Regions from separate parts of the Homo sapiens genome. Here regions 2, 3, 4, 5, 6 and 7 are each linked to region 1. The links are contacts of gene promoters, found by promoter capture Hi-C in blood cells and fetal thymus (Javierre and others, 2016). All regions are on one chromosome and are shown on one strand. The core of a region is centred on a gene start or on the middle of the fragment in contact, and the rest is flanking DNA. Distances in the headings are between cores, read along the strand shown. Region 1 holds the start of WIPI1 (WD repeat domain, phosphoinositide interacting 1). Region 2 has its middle 9.6 kb from the start of C17orf58. Region 3 has its middle 9.2 kb from the start of C17orf58. Region 4 has its middle 5.8 kb from the start of TRR-CCG2-1. Region 5 overlaps LINC00674 (long intergenic non-protein coding RNA 674). Region 6 overlaps LINC00674 (long intergenic non-protein coding RNA 674). Region 7 has its middle 53 kb from the start of LINC00674.

The links. The method cuts DNA at HindIII sites, captures the fragments that hold promoters and counts their contacts. A CHiCAGO score of 5 or more calls a contact.
Region 2: a fragment that was not itself captured here is called in contact with the fragment with the promoter of WIPI1 in region 1 in 9 of 17 cell types (total B cells, naive CD4 T cells, non-activated CD4 T cells and 6 more); the score reaches 12.3 in total B cells.
Region 3: a contact is called between a fragment that was not itself captured here and the fragment with the promoter of WIPI1 in region 1, in 9 of 17 cell types (naive CD8 T cells, non-activated CD4 T cells, total CD4 T cells and 6 more). The highest score is 8.2, in naive CD8 T cells.
Region 4: a fragment that was not itself captured here is called in contact with the fragment with the promoter of WIPI1 in region 1 in 9 of 17 cell types (naive CD4 T cells, non-activated CD4 T cells, naive CD8 T cells and 6 more); the score reaches 13.0 in naive CD4 T cells.
Region 5: a contact is called between a fragment that was not itself captured here and the fragment with the promoter of WIPI1 in region 1, in 5 of 17 cell types (naive CD8 T cells, activated CD4 T cells, naive CD4 T cells and 2 more). The highest score is 7.3, in naive CD8 T cells.
Region 6: a contact is called between a fragment that was not itself captured here and the fragment with the promoter of WIPI1 in region 1, in 1 of 17 cell types (naive CD8 T cells). The highest score is 5.1, in naive CD8 T cells.
Region 7: a contact is called between a fragment that was not itself captured here and the fragment with the promoter of WIPI1 in region 1, in 7 of 17 cell types (total CD8 T cells, naive CD4 T cells, non-activated CD4 T cells and 4 more). The highest score is 9.4, in total CD8 T cells.

What each region holds. Positions count from the first base shown.
Region 1 is chr17:68,456,179-68,458,815 of GRCh38, forward strand. WIPI1 (WD repeat domain, phosphoinositide interacting 1) reads right to left here and starts at 1,318. Exons shown (of 13, transcript NM_017983.7): 1 at 1,164-1,318. The coding sequence starts at 1,243. It also overlaps a transcript of PRKAR1A not described here. RefSeq lists silencers at 1,058-1,737, 1,474-1,760. The HindIII fragment of the contact is 11,803 bases long and covers 1-2,637 here.
Region 2 is chr17:67,985,552-67,988,188 of GRCh38, forward strand. No RefSeq gene overlaps it. Among named protein-coding and RNA genes, the nearest start is that of C17orf58, 9.6 kb to the right of the region's middle. The HindIII fragment of the contact is 3,310 bases long and covers 1-2,637 here.
Region 3 is chr17:68,004,376-68,007,012 of GRCh38, forward strand. No RefSeq gene overlaps it. Among named protein-coding and RNA genes, the nearest start is that of C17orf58, 9.2 kb to the left of the region's middle. The HindIII fragment of the contact is 4,873 bases long and covers 1-2,637 here.
Region 4 is chr17:68,024,494-68,027,130 of GRCh38, forward strand. No RefSeq gene overlaps it. Among named protein-coding and RNA genes, the nearest start is that of TRR-CCG2-1, 5.8 kb to the left of the region's middle. The HindIII fragment of the contact is 5,801 bases long and covers 1-2,637 here.
Region 5 is chr17:68,112,409-68,115,045 of GRCh38, forward strand. It overlaps LINC00674 (long intergenic non-protein coding RNA 674), which reads left to right. Exons shown (of 6, transcript NR_027418.1): 4 at 2,014-2,117. Among named protein-coding and RNA genes, the nearest start is that of LINC00674, 12 kb to the left of the region's middle. The HindIII fragment of the contact is 8,635 bases long and covers 1-2,637 here.
Region 6 is chr17:68,130,651-68,133,287 of GRCh38, forward strand. It overlaps LINC00674 (long intergenic non-protein coding RNA 674), which reads left to right. Exons shown (of 6, transcript NR_027418.1): 6 at 1-2,637. It also overlaps the pseudogene LRRC37A16P and the pseudogene SH3GL1P3. Among named protein-coding and RNA genes, the nearest start is that of LINC00674, 30 kb to the left of the region's middle. The HindIII fragment of the contact is 5,734 bases long and covers 1-2,637 here.
Region 7 is chr17:68,153,283-68,155,919 of GRCh38, forward strand. No RefSeq gene overlaps it. Among named protein-coding and RNA genes, the nearest start is that of LINC00674, 53 kb to the left of the region's middle. RefSeq lists enhancers at 624-1,125, 1,126-1,625. The HindIII fragment of the contact is 1,585 bases long and covers 546-2,130 here.

The DNA of each region.
Region 1 (2,637 bases), core at 68-2,567:
AATAACCAAGCTGTAGAGCTACTCGATTACATGATTACACATATGGGTTTTTCAAACAAAGGCATATTGTTCAGCACCGGGTGTTTTTAAACAGAAACATAAAGGGAATGGAAGCCAGGGTGGCTAATGGTACATAATGGCCTTAATTACACCACTGAAGGATCAATATTAGCGTAGCTCAGTCACCAGCAGCCAAGGCACAGAAACTGGTACAGCAGGAAGTGGGAAACTGGGAATCGGTCATCCCCGCCTGATGCTCAGGGTGCACATTCCAAAAAGATGATTCCATATGGTCCCCAGGGCTCGCTTCCATGAAAATAGGGAAAGAAACAGGCGTTTGCCTGTAAGTCACAGAATCCTGCAGATGCCTGAAACACACTTCAGCCCAGCTCCCTCTCAAAGCCCAAATGTGAACATCGAAGTAAAACATTAAAAATCCACTCAAAAACAACAGGGTGGAGCTCCTGTTTCCTGGAGAGAAAGCAGTCTGCGCCCGGGAAAAGAGTCTTGGACTCCGAGAAGGAGATCCTGCCTGGCTGGGTGGGCGATGTGAAAACAGCCAAAGAAATCCAAAGGTTTCTTCCATCCAGAGCGGGCAGGCACGATGCCCTGCGTCGGGGATGGGACAGGGGCTGGCCTGGCCGCAGGGATAGGCTGCCTCTTTGTCCGAGGCCCTGCCCAGATGCCACGTTGAGATGCTCAAGGACAAATGGGAAAGTTTTTCCTGTACTCTCATCTTCCTGGGCCCCAACTACAGAGTCCTGGGTCAACTTGCAACTTCCTCTCCTTTCTCATCTCTTTCTTTTGGCCACTGTCTCTCTTCCCCAGACACCCACTTTGGTCACTGGCTTTCCCACCGCCCTGCTCCCCCCATATTCCGTGGCCCCCGCAGCCCCACCACTCCCTTTGCGAACTCCCTGCTTTCACCCTTGGCCCAACCTTGTCGCTCTGGGAGGACACTGGGAGTGGGGTGGGGTGGGGGGTGCGGCAAACCCCACTGAAGGGGTACGGGGATAACAAGATCCCAATGCGTCCGAAGCAGACACCGGCCCTCCCGCCGAGGCCGCCTCGAGGCGGAAGCCACAAGCTGCTCTCAGGACGACACCCCTGGGTCCTGACACTCTGTCCCCCACCTCCCTGGCAGGGGCCGAGTCGCAGCTTACGTGCAGTCCTGGTTGAAAGAGAAGCAGCTGAGCGCCGACTCAACCCCGCCCGGGGGAGCGTCCGCGGCCTCGGCCTCCATCGGGGGCTCGGCCCGGGAAGCCGCAGCTCGGAGCCGGCGACAGCCACCTCAGCAGCCCGCCCGCGCCGGCTCCACGGGCCGGGTCGCCGGTCCTGCCCCGCCCCTACCCCGCCCCGTCCCCACCCCGCCCCTACCCCGCCCCGTCCCCACCCCGCCCCTACCCCGCCCCGTCCCCGCCGCGTCCCCGGCTTCGCCCCGCCCCTTCTCGCCCCTCCAGCTGGTCCCGAGGACCAGAGCACCTGATAGGGCGGGGCCCCTGCCTCCGGCCACCATTGGCCACGAGCCCAAGCCACGGCTGGCGGGCACCGCCCCCCTTGGCCAATCCGTGGCAGCTGTGGGCGGACCCGCCCGGCTGGCGACCCGCCCCTGGCTTCGTAACGCGGCTCTCCATTGGACAAAGGCGCGTGACGCAAAGGCAGCAGGCCCACGTGGCGGTGTTTTCATTGCCGGAGCCGCCCAGCTGGGAGGGAGAGGGAAGAAGGAATGCGGCTGGGGCCAGATCTGCTGGTTTCAGTCCGGCAACTGCGTCGGGGCCGCCGCAAGGGTGACAGGAGGACGCGCTAGTTCCCACCCCGCCCAGACCCCTTGCCATGTGTAACTCTGCCTATTAAACTTACAGAGTTTAGCAGAGAGCGTTAGACTCCAAAGCCCCACCCTTTTGTCGAGTCCTCAAGCCGCATTGAGAGAAGCTCCTGAAATGGGGCTGCCTCAGCCAGAGAGATAGCAAGTTATCTTATCCATTGCCGAGCGGTTGAGAACCCTCACTACTTGCCAAGCGCGCCGTACTATGTATGTCATCTTGAATTCTTATAAAACTTGTGTGGAAAATACGATTGTGCTCAATATACAGAAGAGGCAACTGAAGCTCCAAAGCTAAACAATTTGTCTAAAGTAACAGTAAATGGTAGAATGTCTGCATGTCTGCTTTCAAGACCTGTGCACTAAATAACTGCTAAACAGTAATTTGCAAAAACAACGTAGCACCTAGCATGCGAGATTCTAGGTTTTCTAACCAGGACAGAAATGACTGCAGCATTTGACGGAGCTGGAAGGTGGGGGGAAGCACCTTTGATCTGAAAAGTTACAAAAATGGCACAAAGTATCTAAACAAGACCTATCCGATCCGCAGCTGAAAAAAATGAAAGTGTGTGTAGGGCAGTGTAGTTTATGAAAGGGGTAACGTCTTGAAGATATAGCACAATTCAAAACTCACGTAATTCGAGATAAACCTTAACAAAGAATCTCTTTTTAAAAGCTGAGTACTGTACATGTTCCCATGCGGAATTACTGTCAATACGGTTTATGAAGCAGGAGCTCTGCCAGCTTTGGATTGTATAACTGCTGATGGATTTTTAATTCATTTTTTCAAATTTTGAGATGATATTTTAGTTATT
Region 2 (2,637 bases), core at 99-2,598, 470 kb before region 1:
TGGGTGACAGAGCGAGACTCCGTCTCAAAAAAAGTGAGCTTTTGGAGATATTTTCTGAAGGAAAATAATTACCTTTTTATATTTCAAATGGCCTAGAGTGTTATTTAGAGACACTAAGATTTGCTGTTGTTTGTAATCTACCTTCCTAGGATCTGCAAATAAAAGTTACTTCCCTATTTCTGTTAATTCCTTTAGGCAAACTCTCTGCTGCTTTATGTTAAAGAGCCAACCTGGTGGCCTTTCAGATCTCTGCACACTTAGACAAAGCTACATGGTTATTACAGCTTTCGCTCTTCATGATTGAAGCTATTACCGTAGGTCTCAGACTTCTTGTCCTTAATGTGAGAATGGTGATATTTCATGGATAAAGTAATGAAGTACTTGAGGAGGTGGGGGTAAGAACCAGCTGAGAAGTATTTTTAATAATTTGAAACATTCTGAGGTACTTCTGGATACTTGGAGCGAGATACTAGAAGATTTTCTCAGAAGATCATACCGCTTGATCCAATTTGAACCAAATTCAACTAAAGAAATTAGCTATATTTTCAACTAAAATTAGCTATATTTTTAAAATGTTAATGTCCTGCTTTATCTAATTTATTTATTGCTTGCTCAAATATTTCCTGAAATTGAGGTGATGCATTATAGGTGGCAGGTCAGTTTTTATGAGTTTGTTTCTATGTGTGAATGGTCAGCCTTAAAAATGATTTTATCCGGGCGCGGTGGCTTATGCCTGTGATCCCAGCACTTTGGGAGGCCGAGGCGGGCGGATCACCTGAGGTCAGGAGTCCGAGACCAGCCTGGCCAACATGGTGAAAACCCGTCTCTACTAAAAATACAAAAATTAGCAGGCTGTGGTGGCACATGCCTGTAATCCCACTACTCGGGAGGCTGAGGCAGGAAAATTGCTTGAGCCCGGGAGGCGGAGGTTGCAGTGAGCCAAGATGGTGCCACCGCACTCCAGCCTGGCCGATAGAGCGAGATTCTGTCTAAAAAAAAAAAAAAAATTCAAGAGAAATACTAACAGTGCCAAATGATGCTTTCTTTACAAGGCAGTTGTGAAGAGCTATGGGTCGGGCGTGGTGGCTCACGCCTGTAATCCCAGCACTTTGAGAGGCCAAGGCAGGTGGCTCACAAGGTCGGGAGTTCGAGACCAGCCTGGCCAATGTGGCAAAACCCTGTGTCTACTAAAAATACAAAAAGTAGCCGGGCCTGGTGGTGGGTGCCTGTAATCCCAGCTACTTGGGAGGCTGAGGCAGGAGAATCGCTTAAACCCAGGAGGTGGAGGTTGCAGGGAGCCAAGATTGTGCCACTGCACTCCAGCCTGGGTGACAAGAGCAAGACTCAGTCTCACATAAATAAATAAACAAACAAACAGTGTATGTGTTTTATAGACGTTTTCCTACCCAAAGAAAAACAAGTGCTTGGCTGGGCGCGGTGGCTCACACCTGTAATCCCAGCACTTCGGGAGGCTGAGGCGGGCGGATTGTGAGGTCAGGAGATTGAGACCATCCTGGCTAACACGGTGAAACCCCGTCTCTACTAAGCATACAAAAAAAATTAGCCGGGCGTGATGGCGGGCGCCTGTAGTCCCAGCTACTCGGGAGGCTGAGGCAGGAGAATGGCGTGAACCCGGGAGGCGGAGCTTGCAGTGAGCTGAGATTGTGCCACTGCACTCCGCAGTGCGAGACTCCGTCTCAAAAAAAAAAAAGAAAAGAAAAAAAAGAAAAACAAGTACTTTTTTCCCTTGAATTGTAAAATAATAGCTTCATTTGAAGGAGGGATGCTATTGAATTACTACTGAAGGCAAGAGAGTATTCCATTTAGGGACTATTAATGTGTGCACATAGGCACAAACCCATTTGCTAAGAAAAATCTATCAATGGGACAAGATTATAAGAAACTATAGTGCATTTGCTCATTAAAATTTTCCATCAAATTGGCAGGGCGCAGTGGCTAATGCCTGTAATCCCAGCACTTTGGGAGGCTGAAGTGAGTGATTCACTTGGGGCCACAAGCTCAAGACCAACCTGGGCAACACGGCCAAACCCCGTCTCTACTAAAAGTACAAAAGGCCAGGCATGGTGGCTCTCAACTGTAATCCTAACACTTTGGGAGGCCGAGGCAGGTGAATCACTTGAGATCAGGAGTTCTAGACCAGCCTGGCCAACATGGTGAAACCCCATCTCTACTAAAAATACAAAAATTAACCGGGCGTGGTGATGGGCGCCTGTAATCCCATCTACTCGGTAGGCTGAGGCAGGAGAATCGCTTGAACCCGCGAGGCAGAGGTTGCAGTGAGCCGGGATCACGCCACTGCACTCCAGCCTGGGTGACAGAGTGAGATGCCATCTCAAAAAAAGGACAAAAGTTAGCCGGGCATTGAGGCCGGGCGCGGTGGCTCACGCATGTAATCCCAACACTTTGGGAGGCCGAGGTGGGCGGATCACGAGGTCAGGAGATCGAGACCATCTTGGCTAACACAGTGAAACCCCGTCTCTACTAAAAATACAAAAAAATTGGCCAGGCGTGGTCACCCAGGCTGGAGCGCAGTGGCGAGATCTTGGCTCACTGCAAGTTGCAAGCTCCGCCTCCCAGGTTCATGACATTCTCCTGCCTCAGCCTCCCGAGTAGCTG
Region 3 (2,637 bases), core at 52-2,551, 450 kb before region 1:
CCCATCTGGGCCTCCCAAAGCCCAGGGATTAAGGGAGTAAGCCACTGCACCTGGCCCCAGTAAGGGGTTGAAAGCTCAGGAATTAATAGTCAGCTTCCTTTTTTGTTCATCCTGTTGTTTGTTCATTTCAGTCTATTGCCTTCTTATAATTTCCTTCTTTACAAGGACTATTTCTCCTTGTTTTGTTTTTGTTTTTTTTTGAGACGGAGTCTCACTCTGTCACCCAGGCTGGAGTGCAATGGCGTGATCTCGGCTCACTGCAACCTCTGCCTCCTGGGTTCAAGCGATTCTCTTGCGTTAGCTGCCCAAGTAGCTAGGATTACAAGTGCAAGCCACCACACCCAGCCAATTTTTTGTATTTTTAGTAGAGATGGGGTTTCACCATGTTGGCCAAAATGGTCTTGATCTCTTGACCTTGTGATCCGCCCTCCTCAGCCTCCTAAAGTGATGGGATTACAGGCGTGAGCCACCGCGCCCAGCCGAGAGTGCCTGTTTCTTAAAATTGTCTTGGCCAGGTACAGTGGCTCACACCGGTAATCCCAGCACTTTGAGAGGCCGAGGCAGGTGGATCACCTGAGGTCAGGAGTTTGAGACCAGCCTGGCCAACATGGTGAAATCCGTCTCTACTCAAAATACAAAAATCAGCCGGGCCTGATGATGGGCACCTGTAGTCCTAGCTACTCCGGGTGCTGAGGCATGAAAATCACTTGAGCCCACGAGGCAGAGGCTGCAGTGAGCCGAAATTGCACTACTGCACTCCAGCCTGGGCAACAGAGCAAGACGCTGTCTCAAAAAAAAAAAAAAAATATATATATATATATATATATATATGTATGTATGTATTTGGCCCGGCACAGTGGCTCACGCCTGTAATCCTAGCACTTTGGGAGGCCAAGGTGGGTGGATCGCTTGCGGCCAGGAGTTTGAGACCAGCTGGGCAACATGATGAAACTCTGTCTCTACTGAAAATACAAAAATTAGCCGGACATCATGGTGCTCGCCTGTAGTCCCAGCTGCTCAGGAGGCTGAGGCAGGAGAATTGCTTGAACTTGGGAGACAGAGGTTGCAGTGAGCTGAGATGGTGCCACTGCACTCCAGCCAGGGCAACAGAGTGAGACCCTGTCTCAAAAAAAAAAAAATAATTGTCTCTAGGATTATTTGTCAACATTATGTGAGGTATGCTCTGCACATTTTTAAGGAGAAAATATTTTTATTTTTATTATAAAACATTCAAAGTTATAGAGAATAGTGTAATCAACAGCTGCACAAATATAACCCAGTTTTATCAGATCTTAGTATTTTCCCATACTTGTTTCTTTCTTTTTTTTTTTTCCAGTGGTTAAAAAATTACAAATATAGTCGGGCGTGGTGGCTCAGGCCTGTAATCCCAGCACTTTGGGAGGCCAAGGCAGGGGGATCACTTGAGGTCAGGAGTTGTAGACCAGCCTGACCATCATGGAGAAACCCCGTCTCTACTAAAAATACAAAATTAGCCAGGCATGCTGGCGCATGCCTATAATCCCAGCTGCTTGGGAGGCTGAGGCAGGAGAATCACTTGAACCCAGGAGGTGGAGGTTGCAGTGAGCCGAGATCATGCCATTGCACTCCAGCCTGGGCGACAGAGCAAGACTCCATCTCGAGAAAAAAAAAATTACAAATATAGTTTGTAGTAACCATCCTCCAAGTAGCCAGCCCCCAGTGTGCCCACTTTTTGGTATTCACATCCCATATAGTCCCCACCTACCCTGTAGCAGGGTTGGTCTGGAAGACTGATAGGATAGGATAATATACACTTCCAAGATTAGATTACAGAAAGACTGAACTCTTTTTTTTTTTAATTTTTTATTTCCATAGGTTATTGAAGAACAGTTGGTGTTTGGTTACATGAGTCAGTTCTTTAGTGGTGATTTGTGAAATTGTGGTGCACCCATCACCCGAGCAGTATACACTGCACCTAATTAATAGCCTTTTATCTGTCAACCCCTTCCCACACTTTCCCTCTGAGTCCCCAAATTCCATTGTGTCATTCTTATGCCTTTGCATCCTCATAGCTTAGCTCCCACTTATGAGTGAGAACGTAGGATGTTTGGTTTTCCATTCCTGACTTACTTCACTTGGAATGATAAGTCTCCAATCCCATCCAGGTTGCTGCAAATGCCATTAATTCATTTCTTTTTATGGCTGAATAGTATTCCATTGTATGCATATATATATATTATATATATATATATATATACACACACACACACACACACACACACACCACGGTTTCTTTATCCACTCATTGATTGATGGGCATTTGGGCTGGTTCCACATTTTTGCAATTGTGAATTGTGCTGCTATAAACATGCATGTCCAAGTATCTTTTTCATATGACTTAGAAAGACTGAACTCTTATCTGGGGTGTGTGTGTTCTTGCTGTCTCTCTTTTAGCTCATTCACTCTGGCTATGTGGGGAGGACATTCAAGCAGTCTATGGAGATGTCCATGTAGCAAGCCAGTGATGTCTTCAGCCAACATTCAGTAAGAAACTGCAGCCTGCCAACAACCAATGAGCGACCTTGCATGCATATTTTCTGCCAGTTGAGTCTTCAGATAAGAGTGCAGCTCCAGGCCACTGCTTGACTGAAACATCCC
Region 4 (2,637 bases), core at 53-2,552, 430 kb before region 1:
AGGTGATCCACCCACCTCGGCCTCCCAAAGTGCTGGGATTACAGGTGTGAGCCACCGCACCCGGCCTATATTTTGTATTTTCAGTAGAGACGGGGTTTCACTGTTTTGGCCAGGCTGGTCTCAAACTCAAACTCCTGACCTCAAGTGATCTATCTGCCTCGGCCTCCCAAAGTGCTGGGATTACAGGTGTGAGCCACCATGCCCGATCTGCTTGTTTTTTTGAGACTGGTTCTCACTCTGTTGCCCAGGCTGGAGTGCAGTGATGCAATCACGTCTTACTGCAGCTTCCAACTCCCAGGCTCAAATGATCCTTCCGCCTCAGCCTCCCAAGTAGCTGGGATGACAGGCGTGCACCACCATGCCTGGCTAATTTTTATATTTTTTGTAGAGACCAGGTTTCACCATGTTGCCCAGGCTGGTCTCAAACTCCTGGACTCAAGCAATCTGCCCACCTCAGCCTCCCAGACTGCTGGGATTCTAGGCATGAGCCACCATGCCCAGCCTTCTTTTCTTTTCTTTCTTTCTTTTTTTTTTTTTTGAGACAGTCTTGCTCTATTACCCAGGCAGGAGTGCAGTGGCTCAATCTCAGCTCACTGCAACTTCTGCTTCCCAAGTTCAAGTGATTCTCCTGAATCACATCATGGCTAGCTAATTTTTGTATTTTTAGTAGAGACAGAGTTTTGCCATCTCTACTGGAGTTGGCCAGGCTGGTCTCGAACTCCTGACCTCAGGTGATCCACCGGCTTTGGCCTCCCAAAGCGCTGGGATGACAGGCACGACCCCCACGCCCGGTCTGGACTTTTGTTATTATTATTATTTTTTTTAGAGACAGGGTCTTGCTCAGTCACCCAGGCTGGAGTGCAGTGGCTCAATCATAGCTCACTGCAGCCCCAAACTCCTGGGTTCAAGCAATTGTCCTGCCACAGCATCCCAAGTACCTGATACTACAGGTGCACACCACCACACCTGGATAATTTTTTTTTTTTTTTGTAGAAAAAGGGGGTCTCCCTCTGTTGGTTACACAAACCCCTGGCTTCAAGTGATCCTCCTACCTCAACCTACCAAAGTGCAGGGATTACATGCATGAGCCACGGCACCCAGCCTTCTTATTTGAGGTGGCAAATTCCTTTACTCATAAGCCAACTTAGGATTGGGTCTTCTGCCTCTTGCAACCAAAAGAGTCATAAACAATACACTCAGGAATTTGTGAGAGGAAGATAGGATTGACAACAAAGGTGGTTTGGAGAAGGGGTAGATGTATGGATCTTTTGGAATGAACTTAGAAGGTGTGGATTTGAGTTATATGGATGTTCACCCAAAGGCCTCCACTGTGGAATAGGCTATTAATATTCAGGTGGCCATGATGGCCTGCTCTGTAGATGTCCATCATCCTCCTTCCCCTGCCAGGCTAGTGCTTGCTTAATGGGATCATGAACCACATGGCCAAGGCAGCAGAGACAGAGGCTATGCATACGCTCAGTATCATTCACTTCCTACTACTGAGTCTGGTCTGGCTACTATTTCTGCCGGGGGCCCAACCAGCCCTGATGTTGGCTTCACACCCTGAAGGGACCATTCAATTACCTGGTGATCATGACAATAACATTGGACCCTTTCCATAATAGATCAGGAGGAAGAGACATTTTATCTGGATTGGGCCATATTTACTTTCCAATGTGTCACTCTGCTGCCAGCACCACCATCCATTCACTTTCTTTTTTTTTTGAGACGGAGTCTTGCCCTGTCGCCCAGGCTGGCGTACAGTGGCATGATCTCGGCTCAGTGCAACCTGCGCCTTCCAGGTTCAAGCGATTCTCCTCCCCCAGCCTCCCGAGTAGCTGGGATTACAGTCGCGTGCCACTACGCCCAGCTAAATTTTTGTATCTTTAGTAGAAATGGGGCCACCATGTTGACCAGCCTGGTCTCAAACTCCTGATCTCATGATCCGCCCACCTCGGCCTCCCAAAGTGCTGGGATTACAGACATGAGCCACCGCGCCCGGCCCCTCCTTTCACTTTGCAAGTCTTTTATGCTGTCATGGATTCCCAAAGAGACAACACTGCTCCAACCAAGAAACTCACCTCACAGTGAAATTATGGAATTGCAAATCAAAATAATGAGATACCGCTACACATCTATTGTAATGGCTAAAATGCAAAACACTGACAACACCAAATTCTGGTGAGGATATGGAACAAGAGGAACTCTCATTCATTGCTAGTGGGAATGCAGAATGGTACAGCAACTTCAAAAGATAGTTTGGCAGTTTCTTACAAAGGTAAACATAGTCTTACCATACCATCCAGCAATCGCAATCCATGGTATTTATCCAAGTGAGTTGAAAACGTATGTCTACACAAAAATCTCCACCTGCACACAACTGTTTATAGCAGCTTTATTCGTAATTGCCAGAATTTGAACCAACCAAGATGTGCTTCCATAGGTGAATGGATAAACAAACTGTGGTACATCCATATAATGGAATTTCTTTTTCAGATTTTTTTTCTTTTCTTTCCTTTTTTTTTTTGAGACAGGGTCTTGCTTTGTTGCCCAGACTGGAGTGCAGTGGCGTGATCACTGCTAACCTCAAACTCCTGGGCTCCAGTGATCCTCTGCCTCAATCTCCCAGGTAGCTGT
Region 5 (2,637 bases), core at 56-2,555, 340 kb before region 1:
GGTGGCTCATGCCTGTTCTTTGGGAGGCCAAGGCAGGCAGATCACTTGAGGTCAGGAGTTCGAGACCAGCCTGGCCAACATGGCGAAACCCCGTCTCTACTAAAAATACAAAAGTTAGCTGGGCATGCTGGCGGGCGCCTGTAATCCCAGCTACTCAGGAGGCTGAGGCAAGAGAATCCCTTGAATCCAGGAGGCGGAAGTTGGAGTGAGCCCAGATGGTGCCACTGCACTCCAGCCTGGGTGACAGAATGAGACTCTGTCTCAAAACAAACAAAAAAATCAGTTGACAATATACATATAATTCTATTTCTGGACTGTCTTCTGTTTTCTTTATCTATGATTCTACCCCTTTAAGTTTATTCTTTTTAACACCGTGCTGTCTTGATTACTATAGCTTTAAAATAAAGCAGCTTTCAAACAAATTGAGTCTTTGATTTAGAATCTTGTAATGCTTTGGAGCCATTGTTTAATTTGTTCAGCCAATAAGTATTTATCATTTTTGATATGTGACAGATATTATTTTTATTATGTGGTACCATGAATGGAGATATAAGAAATCAGAAAAAGCCTAGATGGGGTCCTGTAGTTTTCCTTTCAGAATTTCTATTATGAACCTTACATTTTTAAATTAATTAATCTTTTTCATCTCTTACTATGTGATGAAAGAGGATTATGACAACCAGGACTTAACAAAGTTTGCTTGTTTACCAGCTGTCAGTCCCCTCAAATCATTTTTGGAAAAAGGTGGGATATAAAGAATAAACATATCTAAAATGTGACCATAGAAAAGAAAGGAGGTGATTGGTGTGTTAAGTATGGGTTGGATTATGAGTATTTATCGTTTTTGCTTGTATTATTTTTGTGACAGGGTCTCTGTCACCCAGGCTGCAGTGCAATGGCACAATCAGAGCTCACTGTGATCTTGAACTGGGCTCAAGTGATCCTCCCACCTCAGCCTTCTGAATAGCTGGGTCTACAAACATGCACTACCATGCTCAGCTAATTTTTAAATTTTTTTTATTTTTCGTAGAGATGGGGCCTCACTGTGTTGCCCAGGCTGGTCTCGAACTCCTGGCCTCAAGTGATCCCCTGCCTTGGCCTTCCATAGTGCTGGGATTATAGGCCTGAGACATTGCTGTGCCTGGCTTGCTTTTGCTTGCCTTATTTTATGTGTATATTTTTTCTAAAAGGCAAAAGAAAGGAAGAAACTTAATTTTATTAGAATGTAAGCATATATATATTCAAAAAATATATACACATATATACAAATATATGTGTATACACATACATATTTGTATACACATATACAAATATGTATGTGTATATATTTTTTGAGATAGAGCCTTGCTCTGTTGCCCAGGCTGGAGTGCAGTGGCGTGATCTCAGCTCACTGCAACCTCCGTCTCCTGGGTTCAAGCGATTCTCCTGCCTCACCCTCCTGAGTAGGTGGGATTACAGGCACCCACTACTACGCCCAGCTAATTTTTGTATTTTTAGTATACATGGGGTTTTACCATGTCTGCCAGGATGGTCTCGATCTCTTGACCTCGTGATCCACCCGCCTCGGCCTCCCAAAGTGCTGGGATTACAGGTGTGAGCCACTGCACCTGGCCTCTTTATTTTTTTAAAAGAGACAAGGTCTTGCTCTGTCACTCAGGCTGGAGTGCAGTGGCATGATCATAGCTCACTGTAGCCTTGAACTCTTGGGCTCAAGTAGTCCTCCCACACCTTAGCCTACCAAGTAGCTAGGACTATAGGCGCCTGCCACCATGCCCAGCTATTTAAGAAAAAACTTTTTTGCACAGATAGAGTTTCACCGTGTTGCCCAGGCTGGTCTAGAATTCCTGGCCTCAGGTGATCCTCCCACCTGAGGATTACAGGTGTGATCTACTGCACCTGGCCAAATTTCACCTTATTTTGACTTGAGTTTTTTGAGCGGATTGGCAGGGAGCAATTAAGTAATAGGCTAACAGGACCTAATAGTAATAGTGTGTTAAAAATTATTTTTTTCAGGAATCATATTGACAGGTCATGAAAATGAGACCAAAAGATCTCTGGAAGCGATTAATGATAAAATTTCATGGAGAAGAAGGCCTTGACTACGGAGGGGTTGCCAGGTAAGGACTTGCTTGCCAGCTTATGACATACGCATCTTTGTACTTACCAATTTAAGATATTTCCTGCGGTATAACTTTCTCATCGACATTTATTTTTTGGGTATTCTATTCCCTAATGTTTGTATTACTGAGGATATCCTAATAGATATATTCATAATGAGGTTAGGATAGTACTGCTACTGGACAAGTATTTTAGAACTCCCCAATAGATCATCTGAGTCCAATGAGACTGCAGGCCCTGTGTTTTCTCCATCTCTCCTTCAGCATGTTATTGCCTCTGCTTTACATTGTCAGGAACAGTTTTGAGATTTAAACGATATATGACGAACTGAATACTGGTTCTCTTTGCTTCCATTTGTTATGCCTTTTTTCCTTGTTAAATGAATGTGTATGCATGCATGTGTGTATACACATGTACATATCATGATGGTCCTCAGAATGTTTCAGTACAGAAGGTATAATGCTTCTGCTACATTTGTAACTCACAGGTCAAGTCAAATTGATTTCTTTTTCTTTTCTT
Region 6 (2,637 bases), core at 103-2,602, 330 kb before region 1:
TTCTAAGAAGAGTCTGAATAAGCCCCCAACTTCTGGAGTCCCTTTCTCAATTTCTGTTGGCAGTGGGAAATATTAGAAATTACTCTGGGCATTAAAAATAGCTCAGTTTAACCTGGATTGTGGGGTTAAAAAAATAACAGATTGCATTGGCCAAATCTCGACAATTTGAGCATTCAAAAGAGTAACAATAAGCTACAACATAATTAATATATAAAAAAGAATCCATGAAGAATGATATTTAAAAAGAGAGGGAGTTGTTCTTTAATGAAATAATGCCAGCTAATGAATGTAGAAGGAATGACAGAATTTTAAAAAGTGTTACTTTGCAACCACCAATGTAATAAAAATTGATTCAGACAAGGATTGTCATTGATGGACACAGCTGGGTGAGAAGACATTTGAGAACAGGATCTTTACTGATCTCAAAGTACCACCACACAGATATTTTATTAATTACCAAAGGGAAAAATTATTTTTTATTTTTTTATGAGACAAAGTCTCACTCTGTCACCCAGGCTGAAATACAGTGGCAAAATCGTAGCTCACAACAGCCTCGACCCCCACCCTGGGCTCAAGTGAGTCTCCAAATTCAGCCCCCCAAGTATATGGGACTATAGTCTTGTACCACCACACCCAGCTAATTTTTTTTTTTTTTTTTTTTTTTTTTTGTATTTTTAGTAGAGACAGGGTTTCACCTTGTTGCTCAGGCTGGTCTAAAACTCCTGGACTCAAGCGATCTGCCCGTCTCGGCCTTCCAAAGTGCTGGGATTATAAGCATGAGCCACCACACCCAGCAAAATAACTACAATGGAGAGATCTGGAAGATCACCTTAAACAAGTGATCAAACTTAGCATTATGAGCCACCTGCAATCACGAGGCAGGAAGGATATATCACCTATGCAGTATTTTTCCCAAAAATGCTTACCTTGAATCTCATCATGTGGAAACAGACAAATCCAGATTATGGGACAATTTACAAAACAACTATCTTTGACTCTTAAAAAATGCCATGTCATGAAAGATCAAAAAAAGTAGAGGAATGTTTTAGATTAAAGGAAATGAAGACATGACATGCAGTGCCTAATCTTTGATTGGATTCTGTGCTATTCTTTCATCTTTCTGGTATGTTTGAATTTTTTTTGAAATATAAACTTGGGCAAAAGAGATAACCAAGATAATTGATTAATTTATTGTTATGGCTCATTGGGGGCAGTTTCAGAGAAATAAAAACAATCTTTGTAACTGGAGTAAATTCTCAAGGTTAATCTTAAGCAATATAGCATGGTCATTAAGAATACAGATTCCACAGCCAGACTAGGCTTAAATCCCAGCTCTGTGAATAATGTGAATTTGGGCACATTGATTAATCTCTGTTCCTTGGCCTTGTCATTATAATAGTACCTACCTCTAATGAGTTTTGAGGATTAGATGAATCAGTACCTGAAAAATGCCTGACACACAGTGAGTGCTCAATAAATGTTAACTACTGTAATTATTACATTACAGAGGTTGTGGGGGGGCCTTTTCTGAGTCCTCCAAAAGGATGACTTTATTAGGGCCACATTAAGACTGTGGAAACAGAAGAGTATTCAACAGATAAATGAAGTCTATGAGTTGGGGGTACAATTTATGGAGTTTTAGATTAAAACTGCATCCAATAAGTTGGTCTGACACATCTTTCAAACCTATAGAGGAATAATCACAAGTGACTAGTATTCCTTTGGGTCCAATAGAGGTCTCTGATCTTCATACAGATTGAATGTACCCAGAACCGTAACCTAGCATTTTACTTATATAGCAACCTTAACTCTGACACAAAAGTGTTTCTTTTGTTTTGAGGCCAAGTCTCACTCTGTTACACAGGCTGAGTGCAGTGGTGCAATCTCACTTCACTGCAGCCTCTGCCTCCTGGGCTCAAATGATCCTCCCACCTCAGCCTCCTGAGTAGCTAGAACTACAGGTGAGTGCCACCATGCCTGGCTCATTTTTGTATTTTTTGTAGAGATGGGGTTTCACCATGTTGCCCAGGCTGGTCTCAAACTCCTGAGCTCAAGCAACCCTCTCTCCTTGGCCTCCCAAAGTGCTGGGATTACAGGCATGAGCCTGAAGTTTAATTGTTATTCTTTTCCTGCCCCCGACTTTTGATTTTAAACATTTTCTTTTTTTCCTTTAAGCCTTAGGATGGCTAGGAAGCATTTTCAGATGGTATAATGAACACCTGTATAACTTTCATCTGGAATCAACAGTTGCTAATACTTTGCCACATTTGCTTTCCATGTGTGTATGTCTATACATTTTCTGGACAAACCATTTGAGAGTCAGTTGCAGACAAAATGACCCTTTGCCATTAAAGACTTCAGTGTGCAGCCCCTAAGAAGCAAGGCATTCTCCTGCATAACCAGAGGACTATCATCACCCAATGGAACTTCATATTATCATTGTCTACTATGCAGCCCATATACACATTTTCACAATTGTCCCAATCATAACATGGCTTAAAAAATTCAGAATCCAATCCAACATCAGACATTGCATTTAGCGTTCATGATTTTTTTTTTTTTTTTTGTAGAAAGACCTTTAATACTTCTGTTTACAAAATTCAGGCATACATTTCAGTTTGCCCTGAACCGTGCCCA
Region 7 (2,637 bases), core at 88-2,587, 300 kb before region 1:
TTCTTACCTATTGTATTACTGTCTGGCACAATTACCAGCATGTAAACTCCAAGAAGGTGCTTCATCTTCTTCCAGTGCCTGGCATAGGCATAGCGTGCACAGTGATGGTTTTAAAATTGAAGGGGGGCCAGGTGCAGTGGCTCACACCCATAATCCCAGAACTTTGGGAGGCTGAGGTAGGCGGATCACCGAGGTCAGAAGTTCAAGAACAGCCTGACCAACATGGTGAAACTCTGTCTCTACTAAAAATACAAAATTAGCCGGGTGTGGTAGCGCATGCCTATAATCCCAGCTGCTCGGGAGGCTGAGGCAGGAGGATCACTTGAACCTGGGAGGTGGAGGTTGCAGTGAGCCGAGATCGCGACATTGCACTCCAGCCTGGGCAACAAGAGTGAAACTCTGCCTCAATAAAATAAAATAAAATAAAATAAAATTGAAGGGATTCCAAGATTCGCCTCATTTAGGGATAGATCTATTGTTATAATCAGATTTCTGAAATCAGTGCTGACTTCCTCTCACATTTCACGGGAAGCTAGACTTCTTAAAGCTTGAAGTTTTCTTGGTGGGTTTTATTTAAATTGAATTAAAATAATTATTTTACAGGGAAAAACTTCAAAACACTTTGCAACTTTGGTGTAAAAGTTAAATAAAACACTCTAGCCCCAAATGAAGTTCTCACTGAAATGAAACTTTTGCCCCTTTTTTTTTTTAAATTCCATATATAGTAAATAATGACTGTTTTGAGATTTAGAAACTTAATCCCTATTTAAGAGCTTTCATATACAGTCATGAGTTGCTTGCCATCATAGCGTATACTTACACAAACTTAGGTGGTATAGCCTACAGCACACCTAAGCTATTTTTAGTAGAGACAGGGTTTCACCACGTTGGCCAGGCTAGTCTTGAACTCCTGACCTCGTGATCCACCCGTCTTGGCCTCCCAAAGTGCTGGGATTACAGGCGTGAGCCATGGCATCTGGCCTGTTTGTTTGTTTTTTGAGATGGAGTTTCGCTCTTGTTGGCCAGGATTCAGTGCAATGGCATGATGTTGGCTCACAGCAACCTTCGCCTCCCAGTTCAAGTGATTCTCTTGCCTCAGCCTCCCGAGTAGCGGGGATTACAGGCATGCGCCACCATTTCTCCATGTTGGTCAGGCTGGTCTTGAACTCCTGACCTCAGGTGATCCGCCGGCCTCGGCCTCCCAAAGCACTGGCATTACAGGTGTGAGCCACCACGCCTGGCTCTGTTACCCTTGAGTTTTTATCTCCACATACTTGAATTAAGCCGTGTAGTTCTTCTTCCCATCTGACATCTACAATCTCTTCACTGGGTCTGTACTCCACAGCTATTTTACCACTTTCTGAAATAAAGTTAGCAAGGAGCAATTCAGAATCTTTTTCATTCTAAAACTTCCTGCATATAATGGTAGCACCCCACAGTGAGACATTCTTTTGGTTTCTAAAAGCAGAAAATAAGAGCATTTTCCTGGAAGTTTCCTCATCTCATCACATACTTCCCTGTCCCTTTCCCTTTCCCCCTTCCTTCCCCTCCCTTCCCCTCCCCTCCCCTCCCTCCCTTTCTTCTTTTTCAGGGTCTCACTCTGTCACCCAGGCTGGAGTACAGTGGCACTGTCATAGCTCACTGCAGCCTGGAATTCCTGGGCTCAAGTGATCTTCCTGCCTCAGCCTCCAGAGTAGCAGGGACTACACCACTGTGCCCGGCTAATTCTCTTTTTTAGAGACATGGTCCTGCTTTGTTATTTCAGGCTGTCTCGAACTCCTGACTTGAAGTGTCCTTCTGTCTTGGCCTCCCAAAGTGCTGAGATTTGAGGTGTGAGTCACCATGTCCGGTCTCACACCTCAGTTTTTAACATATGTATGAAATATCAACTGTGTTTGGTTCAAAGGACTTTATGATCTTACAGATAGGAACTAAGGAATAATAACATAAGAAATAAAAAATTTGGAAACAAAAATGTTCAATCACAATATTAAATAGTAAGGCATCAGGTGGGGGGGTCGAAGTTCAAATCCAAAATGGAGACCACTGGGCTAGTAGACACTTCACATTAGAAGCACGGCTAGGTGTCTACTCCCTGAGAACCAAAATTCCACCAGATACAATGAGCAAAGCTTCAGAGAGAGAGAACACTTGAACATTTTATTGGCAGAAAATATCCCGCATACTCTATAGACAATACAACTTCCTTCAAGGCAAATTAGAGATATAAGGCTTTTGGTCTAAGAAGTTTTGAGTGTGTGCAAGGGATACCTTTGTATACTAGGGAGAGGTAAACAACCCACACATTTAGCTTGGTTATTAAAGGTTGTTACTCAGACTTGACAGTTGATGACCAAGGAAGTAAGACTTTCACTAGAAGGGCGGCCCAGGTTGGAAAGCCGAGAGCAATCAGGGCCACCTCTTACAAGCAAATAAGGTCTGTGGTAACTTAATTAGGATCTCTGTCTCTAAGTCTTCAGGGCTGTGAAGCAGAAGAGCAACTCTGTTCAGGGACTCTTTGCTAAACATCGGGCTTCCTCTGGGCACAGCCTATAACATTTGCACCACTGTAGAACTGAACAGGGAATACAAGCAATGGCATTCAATAGCATGACCACTTCCAAGGCTCACAGCAAA